2 separate regions of the Homo sapiens genome follow, and region 2 is linked to region 1. Evidence: promoter capture Hi-C in 16 types of primary human blood cells and fetal thymus (Javierre and others, 2016). All regions are on one chromosome and are shown on one strand. The core of a region is centred on a gene start or on the middle of the fragment in contact, and the rest is flanking DNA. Distances in the headings are between cores, read along the strand shown. Region 1 holds the start of UTP23 (UTP23 small subunit processome component). Region 2 has its middle 17 kb from the start of MIR3610.

The links. Contacts are between HindIII fragments. The CHiCAGO score rates a contact against its expected background, and 5 or more counts as called.
Region 2: a contact is called between a fragment that was not itself captured here and the fragment with the promoter of UTP23 in region 1, in 1 of 17 cell types (total CD8 T cells). The highest score is 5.1, in total CD8 T cells.

What each region holds. Positions count from the first base shown.
Region 1 is chr8:116,763,657-116,768,906 of GRCh38, forward strand. It overlaps UTP23 (UTP23 small subunit processome component), which reads left to right and starts at 2,868. Exons shown (of 3, transcript NM_032334.3): 1 at 2,868-3,135. The coding sequence starts at 2,948. It also overlaps a transcript of EIF3H not described here. RefSeq lists enhancers at 2,785-2,934, 2,945-3,254. The HindIII fragment of the contact is 9,967 bases long and covers 1-3,859 here.
Region 2 is chr8:116,889,434-116,894,683 of GRCh38, forward strand. No RefSeq gene overlaps it. Among named protein-coding and RNA genes, the nearest start is that of MIR3610, 17 kb to the left of the region's middle. The HindIII fragment of the contact is 9,463 bases long and covers 1-5,250 here.

The sequences.
Region 1 (5,250 bases), core at 1,618-4,117:
CTAAATTATTTATTTAGGCAGTATGTTAGATAATGTTAGGTAGAAATTGTTTTTGAGCTAATGAATGTTAACAAATGTTTATAAATATTTAGATATGAATATAAGGAAGAATAATACCACAATAGATATGTTAGCTAAATTGTCTAACATTTACGAAATTAAACAAAATTATACTAACATTGATGAAATTCAACAAAGTAACCTTTATGAATTATATTTAATGTTTACCTCTTTAATTCCATTTAGGCCATGAATCTTTCATGAGAAAGTCCTATTTGGGAATTAGTCATACGTTTCAAAAATAAATTATTCTCATGTCAACTTGGCTTCATCAAAATTTCATGAAGAAAAAAACTTCAAAATCATGTACAACAGCATAATATTATAAAACTATATTTGATCCAGACATAATAAAATGAAGAACATAAAAAATAAAGAAAAATAAATTAATCGCCTACTTACTCCAGCTGAATGTGGATTTCTATTTGGCATGGAAAATGTCCAGTGGACTGACCTGAGAAAAAAGCTAAAAACTAGCAATGCTGTTATAAATTATTGTTCCTTCAGTATAAGGTCAAAAAAATTTCAATGAATATTAAATATTTTAATAATGACATAACTTTCAAAATAAAATTTCAGATTTAAATTTATATCCAAATGGTTCACTCAATAATGGCAGTATTTGGCTTCTGCCTTGGTTGTGGCTAAATATTGATTTTCCATTACAGATCATTTGGCATCTAAACAAAAGTGTATTAAGTGGACCAATTAATAAAAATATCTTATTGGATAAACGATGCTTTATTACAAAAAAGGTCCTTCAGGAACACTAATGAGCATAATAATGATTTGGGGAGATTGTAATAAATGTCACTTCCTCTTTGAATAGTACCCCTCTCCCTCAATACTTATTCTGAATCAGAAATGGGCATTTTAAACAAGCACACTAAGAGCTTTTTCTGCATATCCCAGGACCTTGTTTTGAGAAACACTGCTGTAATAGAAAACTCTATTTTTTTCTCTTTTTGTCTTCTTTTAATTTAGCAGAGACAGGGGCTCCCTATTTTGCCCAGGCTGGTTTCCAACTCCTGGGCTCAAGTGATCCTCCCGCCTCGGGCTCCCGAAGTTCTGGTATTACAGGCATGAGCCACCATGCCCGGCCGAAAACTTTGTTTTAAACTTGATAATCACCATTATAGACCATCTTCATGTTTTCATAATAAAGATAGGGTGCAAACTGGCACTGTCATATACATAGAGCTTGGGGAAAAAATGTGCTGTAGCTTGGTAAATTAAAAAACGACAACAAAAACTAAGATAAGACTAAAATCCCTAGTGCTGCACCACATTTTTCTTAGTACTGAAAAGTGGCCAAGGAGCTGGTAGATAAATCTGAGGCTATTTAAGAAAAAATGTTTTAACTGTTTTGCAAGACTCAGGTGGTATCTCGTTTCTCTGTCTGTGGTGGGCGCATAGTTGGAGTAGAGAGTTGGCATACAGGGATAAAAAGAGGATTCAAATTGAAAAGTACTGAGCAATTACACTCAAAGACCTTGAATCCAACCCTGCAAAAGTTTTCATGGCTTCCAATTCCTAAATTCATTTTAAGTTTAAATGAAAGCAACCATCTAAGTGATGTGCTGGGACTCAGATCAGGGCTAACATTATAGATCTTATTCCAATTTCATAAACCTACATATTGAAATAAAACCCCAAATGCAAACAATGCATTCAATCACGTTGTAAATCATTTTCTGTGCTGGTTCTTTCAATCTTTAGCCAAAACTAGATCTGGGACAGATTCCAGGCAAGGACAAAAATGCAAAATTCCATACTCCCCATTCTTTGATTATTTTACCTTGAAGTGGATACTCGACAGTTAGCCACGGGAGAACTTGAAATTTTCTGATTCATTCTCCTCATTAATCAAATTGACCAAGTAATTTTTAAACCTCCAGTCAGCTTTGTGCCTTCCTGTTACTGGCCCAGTATGTAGTCTTCCTATGTCAGAGACCATGCACATAAAAAGAGTACTTGAAACTTATCTAGACCTACAACCAGTTTGACAGTGAGGAAGTTGAACCCAGCTTTCTTCGGGAGTTGCCCAAGATCAAACGGCTTGGGTTTGTGGCAAAACCAGGACTCAAGGTTAGGAATTCTGACTCTAGGCAAACGAAGCTCTTGAGAGTTCTTCCAAAACACTCCATGCGAGTGATTTAGGATGGTCCTAAGGCAGGAGGAAATGCAAAATGGTGGCACCCTTTGCCCTGACAAATGGTTCCTGAGTGACGTTAGTTTCTATGGTGGTGTAGCAAGAACATTTGAACTTCAGGCACGAAAACTGGGTTCCAGACACTAACAAACTACGTGCCCTTCGTGAACGTGCTTAATTTCTTTATGGGAAAGCAGCCAGTACAAACCTCCCCACTCATAGCTATCCAATATATCATTTCCTTCTTTCACTTGGGAATTATAAACATTCAGGGGAATAATGTAAGGTAAATCACTTAGGACAGTGTCTGGAACATATTAAGGCTCAATATTATCACTGACTACTACTATACTGCCAGTCTTTCAGAGAAGCTCTTGCTACGCGCCTCTAAAACGTAGGTAACACGCTAAATGTATTCTCGTAATTTTCTTTTACCGTGGCCCCAGACTGCGCATGTGCGCCCCCGTGCGGAATCGCGCACCCCAGCGGTTTTCCAGCGTACGCACAAGTTCCGCCCTAAGGGACCGCCCCTTTAAGCGCGGGCACTGCGGTGGAAGCGCGCGCTGGTCTGGACATGACGTAAACCAATGGGCAGGCCCGGAAGACAGAGGCGTTTGCTTCCGTGGCCAAAGGCGCTTCATTTCCGGGTGAAACTGGCATTGAGGGTACTGGGGCGTGCGTGAGGCGTTTACTGATGCTTCCTGGTCCGGTGGCCTCGGTCCCGGTAAGCCAGGCATGAAGATCACAAGGCAGAAACATGCCAAGAAGCATCTTGGCTTCTTCCGCAACAACTTCGGAGTCCGCGAGCCGTACCAGATCCTGCTGGACGGCACCTTCTGTCAGGCGGCGCTGCGGGGCCGCATCCAGCTGCGGGAGCAGCTGCCCCGCTACCTCATGGGGGAGACGCAGCTGTGCACCACAAGGTGGGCCCGGGGGGCTGGGGAGGAGGCACAGAGGGTCCGTCGGGTGTTGTAGAGGCGAGGCCGTTGCTCACAGACCTTCATTGCGAGCTCAGGAGGTGCAAAACGCCCCGCCCACGTGGAGTTGACAGTTAAGTGGAGAGGTGAAGGTGGTCAGGCGAATACCTATAATAGAGGCAGATTGGACAGTGCCCTGTGAATATCACGTGTCGTTAGCCTGGCGAATGAGAGCACATTATAGCAGAGAGATCCGACTTCGAATCTTGATCCCAGTTCTACCAGCTCTGTGATTTCTGTCAAGTTATTTAGCCTCTCTGAGCCTCGGATTCCTCATTTGTAAAATAAAGATGATAACTGCTTAGAAGATTGCTGTAAGCTCAAACGAGTATAGTGTACTAGAGCATTTTTCGGTATCCAAAGTGTACCCGTCTTCAAATGGTTGCTGTCATTTGCATAGCTTTTCTTAGTTTAAACCAAAACTCTGCAAGCCTCACAGTGAACCTGTGAGTTACCATCTTTGATGTCCAGGGCAAAAAGTCAGTACTTGAGATTAAGGAATCTGCCCAAGCACATTTGTTTATTCAACTCGCTTTATTAAGTACCTCCTATATGCCACATACTGCTCCCTCATGGCCAGTAAAGTGCATAAGTCAGTCTGCAGTGTGTGTTTTCACTCTAGGTCTGATGTTTCCCCACTTCATTGAAATGTGGGAACACTTAGGATGGAAGCTTGTCGGGATGAAGAGGAGAGAGGAGAGAATTGTGACAGATTTCAGATAACATTTGAGCCCATTCACTTGTTCAGTTCTGAGAGGAAGAACTATTTTGAATGACAGAAAAGAATGACACTTCTTGTTGTGGAGACCTCTTCACACGAAATGGAGTTATGAAATGCCTGGGAAAGAGGTTGCAGCACAGAATATATTTGGGAGTGAAACTAGGAAGAAGGCAAATTGAGGCTAGGCCATGAAGAACTATTAAGAAATTTAGTAGTTTTTTCATTGTAGAATATTTACTTTTAAAAAGCAAAAAAAGAAAATTAAAATGACTCATAATACCACTACTCACGAATAATCACTGTTAACATGTGCAGTGTCATCCATCCAGTTCTTTATACACACTCACACAAGCACAAGAATGGACTTTTAAGCCAGGCAAGGTGGCTCACACTTGTAATCCTAGTAGCTACACAGGAGGCTGAGACAGGAGGGTTGCCTGAGTCTAGGAGTTTGAGGTGAGCCTGAGCAACGTAGGAAACCCCCATCTCTAACTACAGCCATAACAAAGTATGGGCTTTTTCTGTGTATACTGTGTTAATAGTCTCCTTTTCCTCACATACGATTACTTAATGAACAGCTATCTGTATTTGTTCAGAATTTCTCAAGCAGGGTCTCGGCTGGGTTACAGATACCCCCAAAGTTTTGATCCCCTTAGTCTTTAGGGCTGTCTAACAAATCCTTCAGTAGTCTTTGCTCCTGAATTGATTGCTTTTGTCTACAAGCAATTTGTCCATATACTCCTGTGTGCCATAGAAATATTAACATTTTAAATATAGTGCTATGATATTAAAAAGGTTGAGAAGTGCCACATAAAATTATATTCTACAGCAATTTTTCTAACAAATTTATTTTAACTCTGGAATTTTTCAGACAACTCAAAGGTAGAATAATATAATGAAACCTCTCTCCAGCTTTTGCAGTTATTAACATGGCCAATCTTGTTGAATCCCTCACCTCTCCTTACTGATGGGTTGCTTTGGAGCATATTATTTATCACTTCTTTGGCATGTATCTTGAAAAGATAAAGAAGGCTTTTAAAAATCAGTATTCAAACTAAATACATATATTACATTTGATTTATATGTCACTTAAGTTTTTTAAAAAAATTTATTTTTGAGATGGAGTCTCACTTTATTGCCCAGGCTGGAGTGCAGTGGTGCGATCATGGCTCACTGCAGCCTCCGCCTCCCGGGTTCAAGTGATTTCCCTACATCAGCCTCCCAAGTAGCTGAGATTACAGATGTGTGACACCACGTCCTACTAATTTTTGTATTTTTTAGCAGAGACAATGTTTCACCACGTTGACCAGGCTCGTCTTGAACTCCTGACCGCAGGTGAT
Region 2 (5,250 bases), core at 1,970-4,469, 130 kb after region 1:
TCTTAAAGGGCAGTCTCTTTGTTGTTAGGATCTGATTTCCATTTGAGCAGTGGAAGATTTAATGTTGCAATTGCAAAGAGAGAATCTCTCTTTTATTAACTTTTATACAATTTCTCATTATCTAATTTATAACTTTGAAGGGACTATTCATTCCTTCTGTACTTTTTTGGACCACTTTTTAAAAACTTATGAAATAACTCTTTAAATAAATAGAAAAAACACAGGGTCAAGTGCAGTGGCTCATGCCTGTAATCCCAGCACTTTGAAAGGCTGAGGCTGAGGCTGGTGGATCACTTAAGCTCAGGAGATCGAGACCAGCCTGGGCAATGTGGCAAAACCCCATCTCCACCAAAAATACAAAATGAACAAACAAATAGCCGGTTGTGGTGGTGCATGCCTGTGGTCCCAGCTACTCAGGAGGCTGAGGTGGAAGGATTGCTTGAGCCTGGGAGGCAGAGGCTATAGTGAGCTGAGATTGCACTCACAATGAAACAGTGTGATAAAAGTACAAAAAATTAACCCATGTATTGTTTAATAACTTTGCATTGCTAACTTTCAAATATTTCTGAAAGAAAACATATCGGGCCTATTCATCCTCTGCTCTCTCCAACTTCATTTGCTTTCTACATTGTGAAATCTCCTGTTTCCAGATTTAGTTCTTCAGAGAAGCAGCCTGTCCTTGGCTTGTCTGTTTGATGTTATGTAAATAATGGATAGAATTTTCCCTGTCCATGTTTTTTCTGAGATGGTTTTCTCAAAAAAATTTCCATTTCAAAAGCAAACTCCACAAATACACAAAAAATAACTAAACATGGAAAGAGGTTTAGTTGCCTTAGATTGTGCAAAAGACTAGAAGTAACCGCCAGATTCTCAGCCCCTGATTGTCCCAAATCACACGTCATCAACTGACTAACCAGAAAAGGAAAACAAGCCAGTTGCAGATGAAAGAAGATTTGATTCTAATACAGATTGTAAACCCACAATGACTGTTTTATAAGCAAAGAGTCACTTTTGTGACTGAATTTGAGTTTTCCACTGCAATGTTTCTTGAAAATTCCTAAAATATCATACATTATACATTATGCCAAACACTCAACTATTGAGCGGCAAGATTTTATTGTTTTTGGGAACACTCTTAACAGGCATTGGTAGGAAATGCAAAGAATTCCAGAAACAGAGCTGGACTGGAAAGAACACATTTATCATTAGTTCCATAAATCTATGTTTCTTAGGATTAGAAGAGGAATTTCTTGGACTGAGTAGGTTTTAAATATTCTGAGCCATTGGCAGAGGGAGCTAGGATTGTTCTGTGATGTTGTGAAATACATATTTGATCTTCATTCCATTTCCTGGAGTACAGCTCCTAAAATCCTTGGAATCTCCTGAGTGATAAGAGTTTTTTTTCTTTGTATGTTACTGAGATAACAGTGGCTAAGAGCACCTAGGTAGTTTCAGGATGGGGGTCACTGGAAAGACCAAGGCATGATTAGAGAGTTGGGAGTTTCAGCCTCCCCAACCCTACTCCCCAATCCCTGCAAGCAGCAGAGAAAGGCTGAAGGTTAAGTTGATCACCAATGGCTAATAATGTAATCAATCATGCCTATGTAATGAAGCCTCCATAAAAACCCAAAAGAATAGTGTTCAGAAAGGCTTCTGGATTGCTGAACACGTGGAGGTGTCTGGAGGGTGATATGCCCACAGAGGGCATGGAAATTTCACTTTCCTTTCCACATACATTGCCCTATGAATGTACTCTGTCTGGCTATTCATCCATATCTTTTGTAATATCTTACAGTTCATTTTGTTTGTGGGATCATATAAACTTGGGCTTGACTTATTGTTGTCATTTTATTTTCCTGATACTTTGTTTTCTTGTTGTGAAATGGGGATACAATACTTTATTAGTTGGGGCTCAGTTGTAGGTGACAGGAAACATTAGGATAATCAGAAAAGAAAGAGGTTAATCATGGGGAAGAGCTGGTTTTAGGCTATGTCTCTGGGATTGACTTCCAGAATGTCAACCAAGAACCAGCTCACCAAAGAAAGGGCTACCTCTGCAACCTTCAGAAAGCTGGGGAGTCAGGAAGACACTATCCCAAACTCTTGATTCCAGCGTCAGACCACCTTAGCTATGAACTGGAGTAAGAAGCTGCCACCAGCATTATAGACTCAGAGTCACATGGTGCATACAAATCCATTCAAGCAAAATGTATGTCACTGGCATCCCTACTTTCCTTCCTTTTATTTACTGATTAATGCAATACATATTTACTGAATTGTAGTAAAGAAGTAAAATATGTAATACATTAGAAAGAGATAAACGTAATACATTAGAAAGGGATAAATGCAATGACGAAAAGTAGTGTAGGAAATGGGATTACAGAAAATTGACAGCATCGGCCTTAGTCTGTTCGTGTTGCTATAAAGGAATACCCGAGGCTTGATAATTTATATATTTAAAAAAGAGGTTTATTTGGCTCATGGTTCTGCAGGTTGTACAAGAAGCATGATGTCAGCATTTACTTTTGGTGAGAGTTTCAGACTACTTCCACTTGTGGCAGAAGGAGAAGTGGAGCTGGCATGTACAGAGATCACATGGTGAGAAAAAAAGTGAGAGAGAAAGAAGGAGGTGTCAGGCTCTTTTTAACAACCAGCTGTTGTAGGAACTAATAGAGCGAGAACTCACTCATTACCTAGAACTCACTCATTACCTCAAGGATGGCACCAAGCCATTCATGATGGATCCACCTCCATGACTCAAACCCCTCCCACTAGGCCCCACCCTGAACATTGGGGATTATATTTCAACATGAGGTTTAGAGAGGTCAAGTATCCAAACCATAGCAGAGTCAAAGAAGACCTCCTTCAGAAGGTGATATTTATGTGAATATCTGAAGAAGGTGAGAGGACGAACCATGTGAGTCTTTAGGGGAGAAGTGTCCAGGAGAGGGAGGAGAAAATGCAAAGGCTCTGAGACAGGAGATTCCCTGGAAGGCAAGCAAAAGCAAAGAGGCCAGCATGGAAGGAGTGGAGTGAGTGAGGGAATGAGCCTGCTGTCAGAAATTCACATTGATTTCAAAGTAGAAATTTCCTAAGTAACTATTGCTTGGTTTTCTATATAGACAGTGTATAAGTATTTTAAACTAAAATATTCAAAGATTTTGATATAATTTAAATGAATATATGCTCCTTTAAATGAAAGGACAGAGCTACCAATATCACTATATTTGAAGCTACTGTTATTTTAAATAATAATCCGTGCTATTAACAATGTCATTATCTGGTTTGGTTTTTCTTTTTCCTCTTTTGGAGACAGGGTCTCACTCTGTTGCTCAGGTTGGAGTGCAGTGGCATAATCATGGCTCACTACAACCTCCACCTCCCTCCCACCTCAGCCTCCCAAATAGCTGGGACTACAGGCACATGTTACCACACCCAGATAGTATTTTTTGTATTTTTTTTTATAGAGACAGGGTTTTGTCATATTACCCAGGGTGGTCTTGAACTCTTGAGCTCAAGCAATCCACCTGCTTTAGCCTCCTGAAGTGCTGGGATTACAGGCATGAGTCACCATGCCTGGCCTTTTTTCCTTTTTTTATAAGACTTTTTTTAATCATAAAAAAAAGTCTGTCTTTGATGTGACTTTTTCATGTAGAATTAATGAGTTACATGATTGACTTCTACCTTTTGAAAGATTCTTACAGGCTTCATTTTTATAATAGCACAGTTATAATAGCTGAAAAAAATCTGAGTATAGCTTGTCAGATTCATCACTGAAATATGTTTTAAGGGTGCGGAATAATAAGTAGGCTGGCTTTGACACACTGCTTTTTTTCAATGGAAGGCTAAAAGTGAGAAAATAAACTCATTTCTGTAGGAGATAGAGATTTACATTTGTTTTCCTTTGACAAAATACTCCATTCTCACACATTATACACCATTTTAAGAAGATTAGTATTTGTCTGAGACAAAGTGATCTTAGACTTTCAGTTTAAATGGTGGCATAGAAGCAAGCTGGTCTTACTACCCCACCTCCTTGCCAGAAAACCAAAAACAAATATACAGCAACAACCCAGAATCAAATATGAGGATGAGACAGATCCTGGGGACACAGAGAAATGAGAGTACTTTGAGCAGATGGTGGGAGAATCAGACTTTCACATCCATGACACCCCATCCCCCCATTCTGCCTGGCAACTAGCACCTGGAAAATCTTCTCCAACTCATGGTTTCTACAAGGGAAGGAGTGAGATTGAGATGGCCAACCAGCTTTTCTACCATCTTGGATATCTTGGGAGGAGACCTGTTATTGTCTTAACCCAAGGGAAGCACTGTGGCTGCCTGAAGGGAGAAACTTCACAGAGGACAGGTGAAGACAAAGGAGGGAAGTGGAACTACCACCCCCAGCCCTGGAAACTCTGCTCTGCAACTTGGCAAAAGAAGACATCAAATCAGAATGGTTGTTCAGGAGCATCACACCATAGAAGGTACGTTTCATAGTTTCCTTGGGTGTAAACTCCTAGCTAGCCTTCTAACAGTGCCAGGTCCCTTTAGGACCTCACCCATTCAAAACGGACATCACTCTGATCATTTACCAAAGCCAAGGTGAACCTGGACTTAAGACACACCTAGGGCCAAAAAGAAGGCTGCAACATAGTGGTAAAGATTTTCTAGGCAAATATATCCACTAAAAAAACAAAACAAGCCTGTCAGAGGAAATTTGAAAAAATAATTAATCCTTCAATACAAAGGCATAGATGTATCCAGGAGGGAATGGAATGACATTTTCAAAGTGTTCAAAGAAAAGAAAATCTGCCATCCAAGAATATTGTGCCCAGCCAAATTATTCTTCAACTATGAAAGAGAGATAAAGTCTTTCCCAGACAAGCAAAAGTTGAGAGAATTCACCACCAGCAGATCTGTCTTACAAGAAATGCTGAAGGGAGATCTTCAGTCTGAAATAGAAAAAAAAATAATGCACAAAAAGAAAACTTTTCAAGGTGTAAAACCCACTGGTAGAATTAAGTACGTAGACAAACCAAGAATACTCTATTCCTATAATGGTGGTGTGCAATCTACTCACAACTCTGATAATAAAGCCCAAAAGACAAATCTGTCAAAAACAATAATAGCTACAGCAACTTATTAAAAGATATGGAATGTAAAAAATGTAAATTGAGACAACTAAAACTCAAAATATGAGGGTGATAGAGTTAAAGTGTAGATTTTTTCGTATGTGTGTTTTTTGCC